3 separate regions of the Homo sapiens genome follow, and regions 1 and 2 are each linked to region 3. Evidence: promoter capture Hi-C in 16 types of primary human blood cells and fetal thymus (Javierre and others, 2016). All regions are on one chromosome and are shown on one strand. The core of a region is centred on a gene start or on the middle of the fragment in contact, and the rest is flanking DNA. Distances in the headings are between cores, read along the strand shown.

What was found. The method cuts DNA at HindIII sites, captures the fragments that hold promoters and counts their contacts. A CHiCAGO score of 5 or more calls a contact.
Region 1: a contact is called between a fragment that was not itself captured here and the fragment with the promoter of ECT2 in region 3, in 1 of 17 cell types (fetal thymus). The highest score is 7.8, in fetal thymus.
Region 2: a fragment that was not itself captured here is called in contact with the fragment with the promoter of ECT2 in region 3 in 1 of 17 cell types (fetal thymus); the score reaches 5.1 in fetal thymus.

Annotation. Positions count from the first base shown.
Region 1 is chr3:170,170,430-170,174,534 of GRCh38, reverse strand. It overlaps PHC3 (polyhomeotic homolog 3), which reads left to right. Exons shown (of 15, transcript NM_024947.4): 3 at 1,823-1,978; 4 at 3,085-3,162. Among named protein-coding and RNA genes, the nearest start is that of PHC3, 9.3 kb to the left of the region's middle. The HindIII fragment of the contact is 1,241 bases long and covers 1,703-2,943 here.
Region 2 is chr3:169,758,051-169,761,822 of GRCh38, reverse strand. No RefSeq gene overlaps it. Among named protein-coding and RNA genes, the nearest start is that of ACTRT3, 9.6 kb to the left of the region's middle. The HindIII fragment of the contact is 1,828 bases long and covers 1,261-3,088 here.
Region 3 is chr3:172,749,071-172,752,852 of GRCh38, reverse strand. ECT2 (epithelial cell transforming 2) reads right to left here and starts at 2,127. Exons shown (of 25, transcript NM_001258315.2): 1 at 1,996-2,127. RefSeq lists a silencer at 1,712-1,781 and enhancers at 1,892-2,151, 2,172-2,221, 2,322-2,591. The HindIII fragment of the contact is 5,304 bases long and covers 1-2,473 here.

The sequences.
Region 1 (4,105 bases), core at 1,074-3,573, 2.6 Mb after region 3:
TCACAGTGAGCACAATGTGACTTTCGGATTTGGTTGTATAGGATTGACTTATTCTGACTTAACCTTTTGGAGAAATGTAAGAATTTTCTCTGATTTTAGTAGAGTACTTGACTTTTCTATATTTATTTATGAAGTTTCAGGCTCAGATTTTACATTTTACTAACAAATATTCACAGTAATTAACACTTTTTAAGGAATTAAGTAAGAATAGTTTTATTCAATGTTGAAGCAAAACAAGGTATTTGACATTTAAAAATTTTTTAAATTATTGAGTAATTTTCTAAAGAAGAAATAGCTTTATAATTTTATTTTTTATTTTTATTTTATTATTATTATTTTTTTGAGATGGGGTCTTGCTCTGTCGTCTAGGCTGGAGTGCAGTGGCATGATCTCTGGTCACTGCAGCCTCCACCTCCTGGGTTCAAGCAGTTCTCCCACCTGAGCCTCCTGAGTATCTGGGATTACAGGTGCATGCCACCATGCCTGGCCAAGTTTTGTATTTTTAGTAGAGACAGGGTTTCACTATGTTGGCCAGGCTAGTCTTGAACTCCTGACCTCAGGTGACCTGCCTGCCTTGGCCTCCCAAAGTGGTGGGATCACAGGCATGAGCCAACCTGCCCAGCTGCTTTGTAATTTTATATGATTATTAATAATACCTGCTCATTGTAAGATTTTCAGACATCTATAGAAGAGTATGAAGTAGAAGCTAAAAATCACCTCTAATCTAGCTACCCATCAGTGGTCTTTGAAAGTTTTCCTGTGGATTCTTTCAAATATTTTAATATAAAAATGGTATCTTACTCTATATACTATTTTGTAACCCACTGATTTTCTTTTTGTTAGTAAATATAGATCGGTATCAGCAATGTACACTATAGTGGCCAGTAGTTACTTGTGGCTGTTTACATTAAAATTAAAATTAATTAAAATTCAATTTAAAATTAACTCAATTCTTTAGTTGCACTAACCACATTTTAAGTGCTCAGTAGGCACATGTGACTAGTTGTTACTGTATAGGACAGCACTGATCTACATTACTATTTGTTATGGTTGCATGGTAAAGGTATTTCTCTCCACACCCAAGCCCTGAATTCTACGAAGTTTTATCCAAAAAGGTTATGCCAACTTGAATTTTTACTAGCAATATGGGAGTATTGGTTTCCCCAGGTAGTAGTAGTATTCTTTTAAATCTTTATCCATCTGAAAGTTGGAAAACAGTATCTTGTTTTAATTTGTAAGTTTTTGACTACTGGTGAGATTGAAAATCTTTTGAAATGCTTAGTTGGCCTGGCCTGTCTTTTGCGAATTGTCCACTGGGTTTTGTTTTGTTTTTTTTTTTTTGAGATGGGAGTCTTGCTGTGTCGCCCAGGCTGGAGTGCAGTGGCATGATCTTGGCTCAACTGCAGCCTTCACCTCACAGGTTCAAGCGATTCTCCTGCCTCAGCCTCCCGAGTAGCTGGGGCTACAGGCATGTGCCACCATGCCTGGCTAATTTTTTGTGTTTTTAGTAGAGACGGGGTTTCACCATGTTAGCCAGGATGGTCTTGATCTCCTGACCTTGTGATCCGCCCACCTCGGCCTCCCAAAGTGCTGGAATTAACAGGCGTGAGCCACCGTGCCCGGCCCACTGGGTAGTTTTAATGTGTACAAGTTAGTGATTTCTAGTGATATGTAACTAGGAAAGAAATAATGTTAATAAGCTTGATGATATTATGTATTAAAGCAGTGAAATTTTAAACTGCCACTTTTTTATACTTTGATTTTCTGATTAAGATAAAGGTTGAGATTATGGTTTGACATTGGTTCAATTGACTTATCACAGGTAATTCAACAGGCATTGCATCGGCCCCCCAGCTCAGCTGCTCAGTACCTTCAGCAAATGTATGCAGCCCAACAACAGCACTTGATGCTGCATACTGCAGCTCTTCAGCAGCAGCATTTAAGCAGCTCCCAGCTTCAGAGCCTTGCTGCTGTTCAGGTAAGACTAAAATAAGAGTTTATGAGATCAAAGTTTCTGTTATCTGTAGGTAGTTACTGAAAATAAATAGATTGGGTATTATTTCAGAGTTCTCAGATGTCCTGTGGTTATTTTTCCCGGAGGAAATATATTAATAGGTTGCCGAATAGAAGTTAATTGAGAAAAAGGGGATATGTTTTTTTATGTTACTCTGTTTCTAGCTTTTGTCTCAGTGCTTTTTATCCAGATTGAAGAAATGCTATGCTAGTTTATGTGTATAAAGTTCTAGGTACAACAGTGAGTACTTAGGCTTACATAAATTGTATTTTTACTAAAAATAAGATTAAAAAAATTATATAAGTAATTATACTCATTAAAAAATCAAACAATATTAAGTTGTTTATAAGAGATAAAGTAAAGCTGTTCCTTTTCCCTGTCTATCACTGTTTCCCGTTCTTCAAAGGTGGCCACAGTAACAATCTAATACATATTTCTCCAGAAATTTTTTATACAAAGATAGGTATATCCATTTTTCTAAAATCCAATCATATTATTCCTACTGATAACAGGATTTCATTATTAAATGCTTGTTTTTAAAAAAGATTTTTGTTACTATTGTACTATTTAAATAAAGCTGTGTAAGATTTAATCTTAAATCCCCTCACCAGAGGAGGATCTCAATTGACTGAACCTGAAAAAGGTTTATTTCTGTTACCAACAGATTCTCAGCTGTTGCTTCTTAGTAGTGTAATTTTTAAATAACATGTTTGTGATACAAGTTAGGAAACTGAAACCCACTCACTGGCTCTTGCTGTAGCTCTAATTTCTTTTTCATAACTCTGGAGTAGTGATTCCACTTTAAAGATGACAGAGACCCATAAAGTGAAACTGACAATAAAGTAGCTAATAAAATAAGATTAGTCTTTGGATCCCCTGTTTTCACCATTCAGCTTTTCCTTATTTAAAAAATCTGTTTAACCGAAGCTTAAGCCATGTTGACTATAAAATTAGTTGTTTCATACATAGGCCTTTTGACATTTATTGTTGTGGTTTTGTGTTATCATGGTACCAGAAAGTTCTTAACTTCAGGTTTTTACCGACATATTCTAAAAGTCTTACTATTTTAGGCAAGTTTGTCCAGTGGAAGACCATCTACATCTCCCACAGGAAGTGTCACACAGCAGTCAAGTATGTCCCAAACGTCTGTAAGTTCCCTAAATTTTTTTTTCCTGGATTTAAAATTTTAAAGAATTGTTTTCCAAAAGTAAACTGTTGTTATTTATGAAGCTGTTATTATAATTTGTTGCATGCTGTTTAAAGTAACAATTGCCCAGAAATAGAAATGATAAAATTCAAGAATTCAGAACTAATGTTAAACTTATGAAAATCTGAGTCTTAAAAAAATCTTTTTGTATTATTTCTTGTATATCCATTTGCACTGATCATGTTCAGATCTTATGTGGTTTCAGCTTTCTGTGTGTATTGAAAGCCTAAAATATACAATGCAGGGATATTGGCCATGAATTTACTGTGATATACAATAGTATGTCATGTCCTTGGTAGACATCTAAGCATTTCTAACTTTGTGCAATTCACATTTTAGAAATTATACTTTCAGCTTACATGAGTTATTTGGGTTCAATTTGCAAGTATCCATTCAAGATAGGGTAATTTATTTTGAGAAAGGAGTAAAAGAAAGCTGATTCGCTATATTGCACATATATATTGGGAAATTGTGCCAAGTTTCCCAGGTAAAATAAATTTATGGGCATGGTAATACTTGTTTAGCTTTTAATTTTGGTATAATTTTAAACTGCAATAATAATAAAAAAATTTCTGTATCTACTCTACTCAGATTAATCAATTATTGCATATTGCCCCATTACTTTATCATTCATTCTTTTCCACTACATGTATACATATTTTTTTCTGAGTCATTTGTAAGTTGAGATATGTTCCTTTATTCCTAAATACTTTGATGTGTATTTCCTAAGAACAAGGCTATTGTTTTTTGAAGCCACAGAAAAATTACTAAATTCAGGAAATATAACATTGATACAGTGCAGTTCATTTTCACATTTCATCATTTGTCTCAGGTTTCCCAACCTCATCACTATGGACATTATGAGCCAGATAATTCTTTGTTGT
Region 2 (3,772 bases), core at 925-3,424, 3.0 Mb after region 3:
TTTGAGATTATAAACAATTTCGGTGACTAGGTGAATCCACAAATACAGAATCTATGAATATTGAGGGTTGACTGTACTTCAAGGTCTATGTGACAGCTGTATCTGAGAGAGACTACAGATGTCCACATGGTTCCTGAGGTACTTAGGGCTTGTTTCATGCCTTTTATATTATTTAAACCAGTGATTCTCAAAGGGGTATAGTGAGAGAAAGGGTATATGAAGTTTGCAAATGACGATACTTGTTCTCTTTATTTTGTTACTTAGGTTGTATTTCACATGAAGGATGTGAGAATTTTATGCGTATGAAGGAAGCATTAGCTTTAAAAATACTGAGAAACATGCTTTTTCTTTTGTCCTTCAGAATGAGGGGCTTCCTTTGTAAGGTCTGGAGTTGGTTATGGGTTTTGACTCTGAGGATGACATTGAGTTTTAATTCAGCTTGTCCTGGTTCTGCAGTCAAAAATTCCATGTTAGCCTGGCTCGAGACTTAAGAGACAAATAGATGGCACAGGCACAAGCGTGTGTACACATGCACCCACCGTCATACAAAGTGTAAGGGAGGAGTGGTTTTAAATAAGATGAGAATGAAGTGACAAAAGGTAACTGTCATTCCTTCATGTTCATTCTTTTAAGGTAATAATATGTGATGGAAGTAAAAACAGCGAAAATACCCAAGAATTAGCCCAGGATATGCAAATTTAAATGTCTGCAGTGGACAGAAAGGAAACAAAGAAGTGAATCACACTGGGAATAAGAAAATGGAGACTATAGAGATGGTAGGGAGAATGAGCTTCCCTTTTTAAGGAGGCAGCAATCTTACAGAAATTGAGCCTAAAATTGTCAGTATTGCAAGAGAAGACAAAAATTCAGATTTTTATGTCAACACCACTGATTATAGAATGTTGGTAGCTAAATTGAAATAAAATTTAAATATTATATAAGTGCATGGTAAAGAATTTGGATGGCTTTTGTTCCTGAACCCTGGGAAGTAGCCTCTAAACCCTTGGAATTCACCAAGAATGGTGGGAGTGTCTTTTCTTGGTAGGCCTCTTGGACTAGACCCAATAGTTTACACTAACGAGATGACTCATGACTGGGGGTTGGTCAGCCATGTGATTAGAGTGTTGGGGCTTTGGGCCCCATGATACTAGCCCGACCTCTTGAGAGACTTGGAGCCACATGTCTGAGCCTTATGACTAGTGATTCATCCAATCATGCCTGTAATGAAGCCCCAATAAAAACTCTGGACACACTGAAGCTTGGATGAACGTCCGTGGTTGGCAGTACTCAGTGTGCTAGGAGGAAAATGTGTCCCTGAGGACATGAGGAGAGGGACAATGGAACCTTCTTTCTGGGACCCTCCCAGACCTCACTCTATGTGTCTCTCCCTTTGGCTGGTTTTGATTTGAATCCTTTTGCTATAATAAAACCATAATAATAACTATAATAAACATCCTTTTGCTATGATAAAACTGTAATAAAACCGAAATAACACTTTCCTGAGTTCTCTAAGTCATTCTACTGAATTATGAAACTTGAAGGGGTAGTGGGAACCCCTAAATTTGTAGGCAGCTTGTCAGATGTAAGGATGGCCTGGGGACCTCCTAGCTTAGGTTGTTGATAGCTGAAGTCATTGCAATGCACCAATAAAAAAACGTTTTGAGATAAAATCTGGTCTATTATAGGCTATTAATTTGCGACCTTTGGCCTAGGCAAATTTAAGCATTCCTGAGTGCTTTCTCTAGAAGGGTGAGGGTTTGGACCATCCTACCAGTTTGAGGCCTACCCAAAATAAATGTATTTGAGAGGAGTTTACACTGGTGGTATCTGTTATAGGTTTCTGGGAATATCACTAAAGAGAAGTTTCAAAATTAAATTTTAATAATATTCTGAAAATAGTAGTGCTAATCCTTCACGTATAGGGGTTAGGGTATTTCTTCCAGTGGTTCTGCCTGAGGGGTGGGCCTGTTTTTCAGTGTCCATTCTGTCAGTCGTTATGGGATGTGAAGAGGGTTCCAAGGGTTCCACCATCACTAGGTGGAAATGAGGCAACTTTTCCCATATTTTTCCTTTACTCTGGTTTGTATCTCCCCTCCTAGGTAGGTATCAAAGTATATATGGTCTTCATTTGTGTTGCCTCAAATTCTCATTTCTTCCTTGATATAAAAAGGAAACAGGAAGACATTGAAATAAGGATATTATTGTGGTCCTGTACTTTTACCCTGTTCTAACCTAGCTGAGGGAATCTAGCATAAGTCACCCAACTTTACATTCCACATGTGTCAACCGGATGTACTAAGACTTCCCTTGAAGGGTGGTTGTGGGGAGAATATATGAGTAATATATATGACAGCAACTGGTATTATTAATGAGAGGAGAAGTCTGTCTTACTCTTTACTTTGCAAGTAATGATTTTACAGCGCTCTGATGGGTATGTTGTAGTTACTCTGGCAGGAAGTGGTTTTGACTTGGGTATATAGTTAAGAGATATATGGAGAAGGGTGGAAGTGCTAATGGTTTGTGAATTTTTAAAATAACACCAATTATGAACTTGATGCACACCTGCAGCTAGAATCTTTCTCTAGATGATGTTTGACTATCATTTTTTTTTTTTTTTTTGTCTTGGGGCTCTAGGTTTTCACTTTGGTGATATTTATGTGTGTACTATGGCTGTCTATATAAGTGTTAAAAGGCATAATTATAGTTATTAAAAACAATTTAAGGAAAACAGAAAAATGCAATAATGAAGAAATACAAATACTGACTTTTTTGTATGATCAATGAGGATATTATAACTAAAATGAAAAACATTATACATATCAGTTGCAAAAACAGTTACATTCCCCACAATCTTTTTAAAAAATGCGAGTAGTTTGCTAAAGTGAACTGGGTGACTTATTTTCAACCTTGGAAGAAAAACTCAATTAAAGCTACATTTGAACTGTAATGGCACCAAGGAGTTCAACTTGACCTCATATGCCAGATTATAATCATCTTTCAAGTGTACAAACAAGGAAGCATAGTTATCAAAGAATGAGAAATACGTTTGTTCAAAGACCATTTACTGCTTTAACAAGAGGTGAAAGCTTGCCAGAAATATATAAACACCTACCCCAGTGCTATTCATAGGCTTAACATGTTCAAAGACTTGGGGGCGGAGGGGGGGCAATTTAAAAATATCTTTGAAGTTGTGGGTATTCATCATCATATCTAATAATGCTTACTTTCTAGAGCCCCTCTCCAAGGAGGGCAAAGCAATTTATCTGACTTATTTTCATGACATCCTTGTGAGATAAGGCAACCACCATTATCTCCCTTCTGCAAATGGAGAAACTGAAACGTTGGGAGGTAAAATCACTTGAAGAAGGTCAGTAGCAGGCCTAAGAATGTAAATACACGCATTTTAGCTTTTAACTGCTATTTTACTTTACAGAAAACTAAACAAACAAAAAATAATTTTAAAAAAATCACATACTTTTTCATTCTCTTTTTAAGTTAAAGAATAATTACTCATCTATCAACTTTTCCTTGGTAAGGAAAACAGTTTAAATGGCTTTTCACAATAACTGGAATCTTATTATACTGGAATGAATGAACCACTTGCAAAGTTGTGATGTTCATTTAACAAACACTAAATACCTAGTCTGCAACATGTTGTATTGTTCAGGGTGTTGAGACTTCAAAGGTGAAACATATATTCCTCATCTTTAAAGGTCTTCCTGGAGAGAGAGATTCTATAAGCAAATTATATGGTGCAGTCTCATGTTATTTA
Region 3 (3,782 bases), core at 878-3,377:
TGCACATAGTCAGTTAAACCTCAGTTTCCACATTGGTGGAACACACATAGTACTACAACTCAAATCTAGTTAAGATGAAAACTGAATAGATGTCTTAAAGTGAACAACAAACAACTATTCTCATGTAATATTCACAATATGGATATTTCTTATGGCTTTACCATACATCCATGTCAATCATTATTCTAAGGCTCTCCAAAGGAGCGGTCCAATAGTTGTAACAGCCTTAATTTAGAATCAATGATAAATTCTATCCAGCCCTATTATTTTAAGTCTTCTACACTCAACCATTTCCAATGAAAAGGCATTAAAGTGGCTTTCATTCAAAGTCCCCTTAAAAGAATGTTTAAAAAAAAAAAAAAGTCAGGAGATGAGCTAACCTGCTTTAAGGACTGGAAGAGGAAAATCAAAAATACCATTTGAAAGGCCGGACGCGGTGGCTCACACTTGTAATCCTAGCACTTTGGGAGGCCAAGGCGGGCGGATCACGAGGTCAGGAGTTCGAGACCAGCCTGGCCAACACAATGAAACCCCGTCTCTACTAAAAATACAAAAATTAGCTGGGCTTGGTGGCAGGCACCTGTAATCCCAGCTACTCAGGAGGCTGAGGCAGGAGAATCGCTTGAACCCGGGAGGCAGAGGTTGCAGTGAGCCGAGATCGTGCCACTGCACTCCAGTCTAGGTAACAAGAGGTAGACTCCGTCTAAAAAAAAAAAAAAAACTTCTTGAAAATATTTACATTTTTCTCCTATGCCTCCCTCTTTAAGAGGGAGCACAGCAAATGATCAAAAGCAGATGATTAATAAAAGGGAGGGAGCATAGCAGATGATCGAAAGCAGATGATTAATAATTAAAATTGCCCCTGATGATACTGTATATGATCAATTTATTGCCAAAACAGCTTCAAAATGTATAGAGAAAAAGAGATGCACTACGGTAACTTGATGACATAACTAACATCCAACAGTCAGATTAGAAATGGAAATATATTAATCACTTTTTTTCAAATTACTGTATTCCAGAAGCCTTTAAAATAAGCACAATAGGATCAGTGTTCATAAACCTACACAGCTTCTCACCCAAGAACAGACCCAAGGAGCTTCTAACTAAACACACTATAACACATGCCCCCTTTTATCCCAGAGATAAAATTTGCCATGTAAACAAACATTCAAGTTTCCTTTTACTTAAATACTTTTTAGGCAATCATCTTCCAAGGTGAAGGACTAAAATGCAATCCAAGATATAATGGTGGTGTTATTAACAATAACATTACTATTAACAACTGACATTTACTTAACGCTTAATACGTGGCAGACATTGTCCTAAACCTTTTAATCTCTGCAGTAATCCTAAGAGGCAGGTACTATTATTATTTTCAATGTATGGATGAAGAAACGTAGGAACAGAGAGGTTAAGCAACTTCCCCTAAGTCAAACTGTTAGTAAGGGGTAAAAGAGGTATTCAAAGCCCGGCTAAATCCAGAGGCTGCGCCTTTAACCACTAAGCCGGACACATCTGTGCCGGGTGGCTGGGGAGGACGAGGGGCGGATGGCCTGGATTTATCTTGCAAAAACGAAAAATTAAACTTCCCGCAAAGAAGCCAGGATGAATCCTAGAATAAAACCACGGCGCACTCTGAGATAAGCCCCCAAAGGCTGCAAGTGCCGGCCCCCAAAGCCACAGGGCTGCGCGGCTTGCCAAAATCCCTTTCCCAACTCCCTCCCTTCACCCACACTCTTCTGTCCAAAAGAGCCAACAGGTGAGGGCGAAGATGCCCAGCAATACTGGGGGCTTCGGTCTCCCACTCCGCGTCAGGGCCCGGCTGCTGGGGGTGGGGTGCGGCGAGGGAGTTCCCGGATCCGGGAAGCCTGAGCTGGGGCGCTCCGGAATTCGCGGTCACTAGGGGCGGGGACGTCGACCGCAGGCAAAAGAGCCCTTGGCTCTGGAGCCGCTCGCCCACTTGCACCTCTCTCACTCACACAGAGTCCTTACCACTCTCAAAAAAGCCCTAGGAGTTCCACCTCTTCAAACGCCGACTCCTCTCACAAATACCGCCATTCCTCGCCGGCGGCCGCCACAACCGATTCAAAAACTAAGCTGCTCTCTCTAAGAGCCATGCCGATTGGCGCGTGATGTCAACCTCTTTCCCATAGGCAGGAGTCTCCAGAGGGGCGGTGATTGGTCGACGCTCTCCAAGTCCCGGCAGGCGCCGCTTGATTGGTTGTGCGTGTGTTTCAAATAAGCCCAACGACTCGGGCGTCGGGACGCCAGGAGTTTGCAGAGAAGTGCCCGGATGTGGCCAGGAGGTGGCGGTGGTGGCTCCTGAGGTCTTAAAGGAGTAGCAGGTGTTTCTGTGACTACCGCATATTTACTCAGTAAACATCCTACTTCCTGAGGAAAGTTTGGGTGGATTCTCCTCGGCCCCACCCAGCTTTTTTTTTTTTTTAAACGATACCAAATCTTTTAAGCTTAAATCAGTGCCGCCAGAGATAAATGTTTCCCTGCTGCTTGCTGTGAGCTGTAGGATTTTCCTATCGGGATGCTTTCTGCTTTAGGAATGTATTTAAATTTGAGTTAAGGGATTTTGACTTTGATGGTTGTATTGGCGTGTGGCAGGGCCAAGGACCGGTCCTAGAACTCGGACTCCCCAGGTGGACTTCAAATCAGCAGCCGCTTATTTAAATGCTATTATTTAAAGCACTGCGCTCCCATCTAGGGAGTATCGCGGGTTAGAATCAATTCTTAGAAATTAGAAAAATTCTCGGATTTTTTTAAAGATAAGCTTGAATTTGATAAAAATATGCCACGAGATTCTAGAATTTTTGGAGCCAAATTGCTTCGTCTTTGCCCCCCTCCGCCCACTAAGAACTTGTACTTTCCCCTAAAGTCTAGTCAAGAATGTATCAAGTTTTTCCTGTGATTAGCGTTGCTATTATGAAAATAATTTCTTTATTTTCTAAATATGATACCATATAACACAATCTCTTAAGAAAAATACACCCCCACCAGGTGGGTTTTCCATAGTTCCCACCTGAAGGCTAATATAAATAGAAGAAGAAAGGGGAATCAGATGCCAGAACCTAAATACCAATAAGAAGAGGCAAACGTGTACTTTGGGATGGAACACTTGTGAGCATCTCAAGCAGGTTGTGGGGACTTAACAATTTTTTCTAATTTTGTCAGGCAATCTTAGAATGCCTGAAAAGTTTATAATGCTGTCCACAAAATGAATGAAGCAATCTGGTAATTATTGGTTTCCCTGCTTGTCAGTATTTAAGTCTGACCTTCATTAAAATGCTGTGATAACTGTTACGGCAGAAAAAAAGAAAAACAGTAATTGAAATTTCCATTTGGAATGTGCTTGCGTATTTGGAAGTCGGGTGTGCCCAGCATTCCAAAAACGTTCATCACTGAAAACATATTAAGCTATTGTGGGAAGCAGCCCTACTTCCTTTGTGCACCGCTTTCTGCTCAACAGACTTTCCAAAGCTAATGATTAACTGTGTATGGTATCATTGCCATGAATTTTAAGCTTCCCTAACAAAAGCTGTACTTGATTTCTTTTAAGGGATGTGTGGCAGTTAGATTAACAAATAAACGGGTAATACAACCTTTTTCACTCTCTTAGGTCTTCATTTACTCAGCAAATATTTACTAATTTTAAGACAGCCATTGTGCTTGTTGGGGTTATAAAGATGAATAAGGCATAGAAAACTGCCTGTCTGGACCACACAATCTGGTGAGGGAAATTAGCAGATAAACAGATAATTACAGTATAA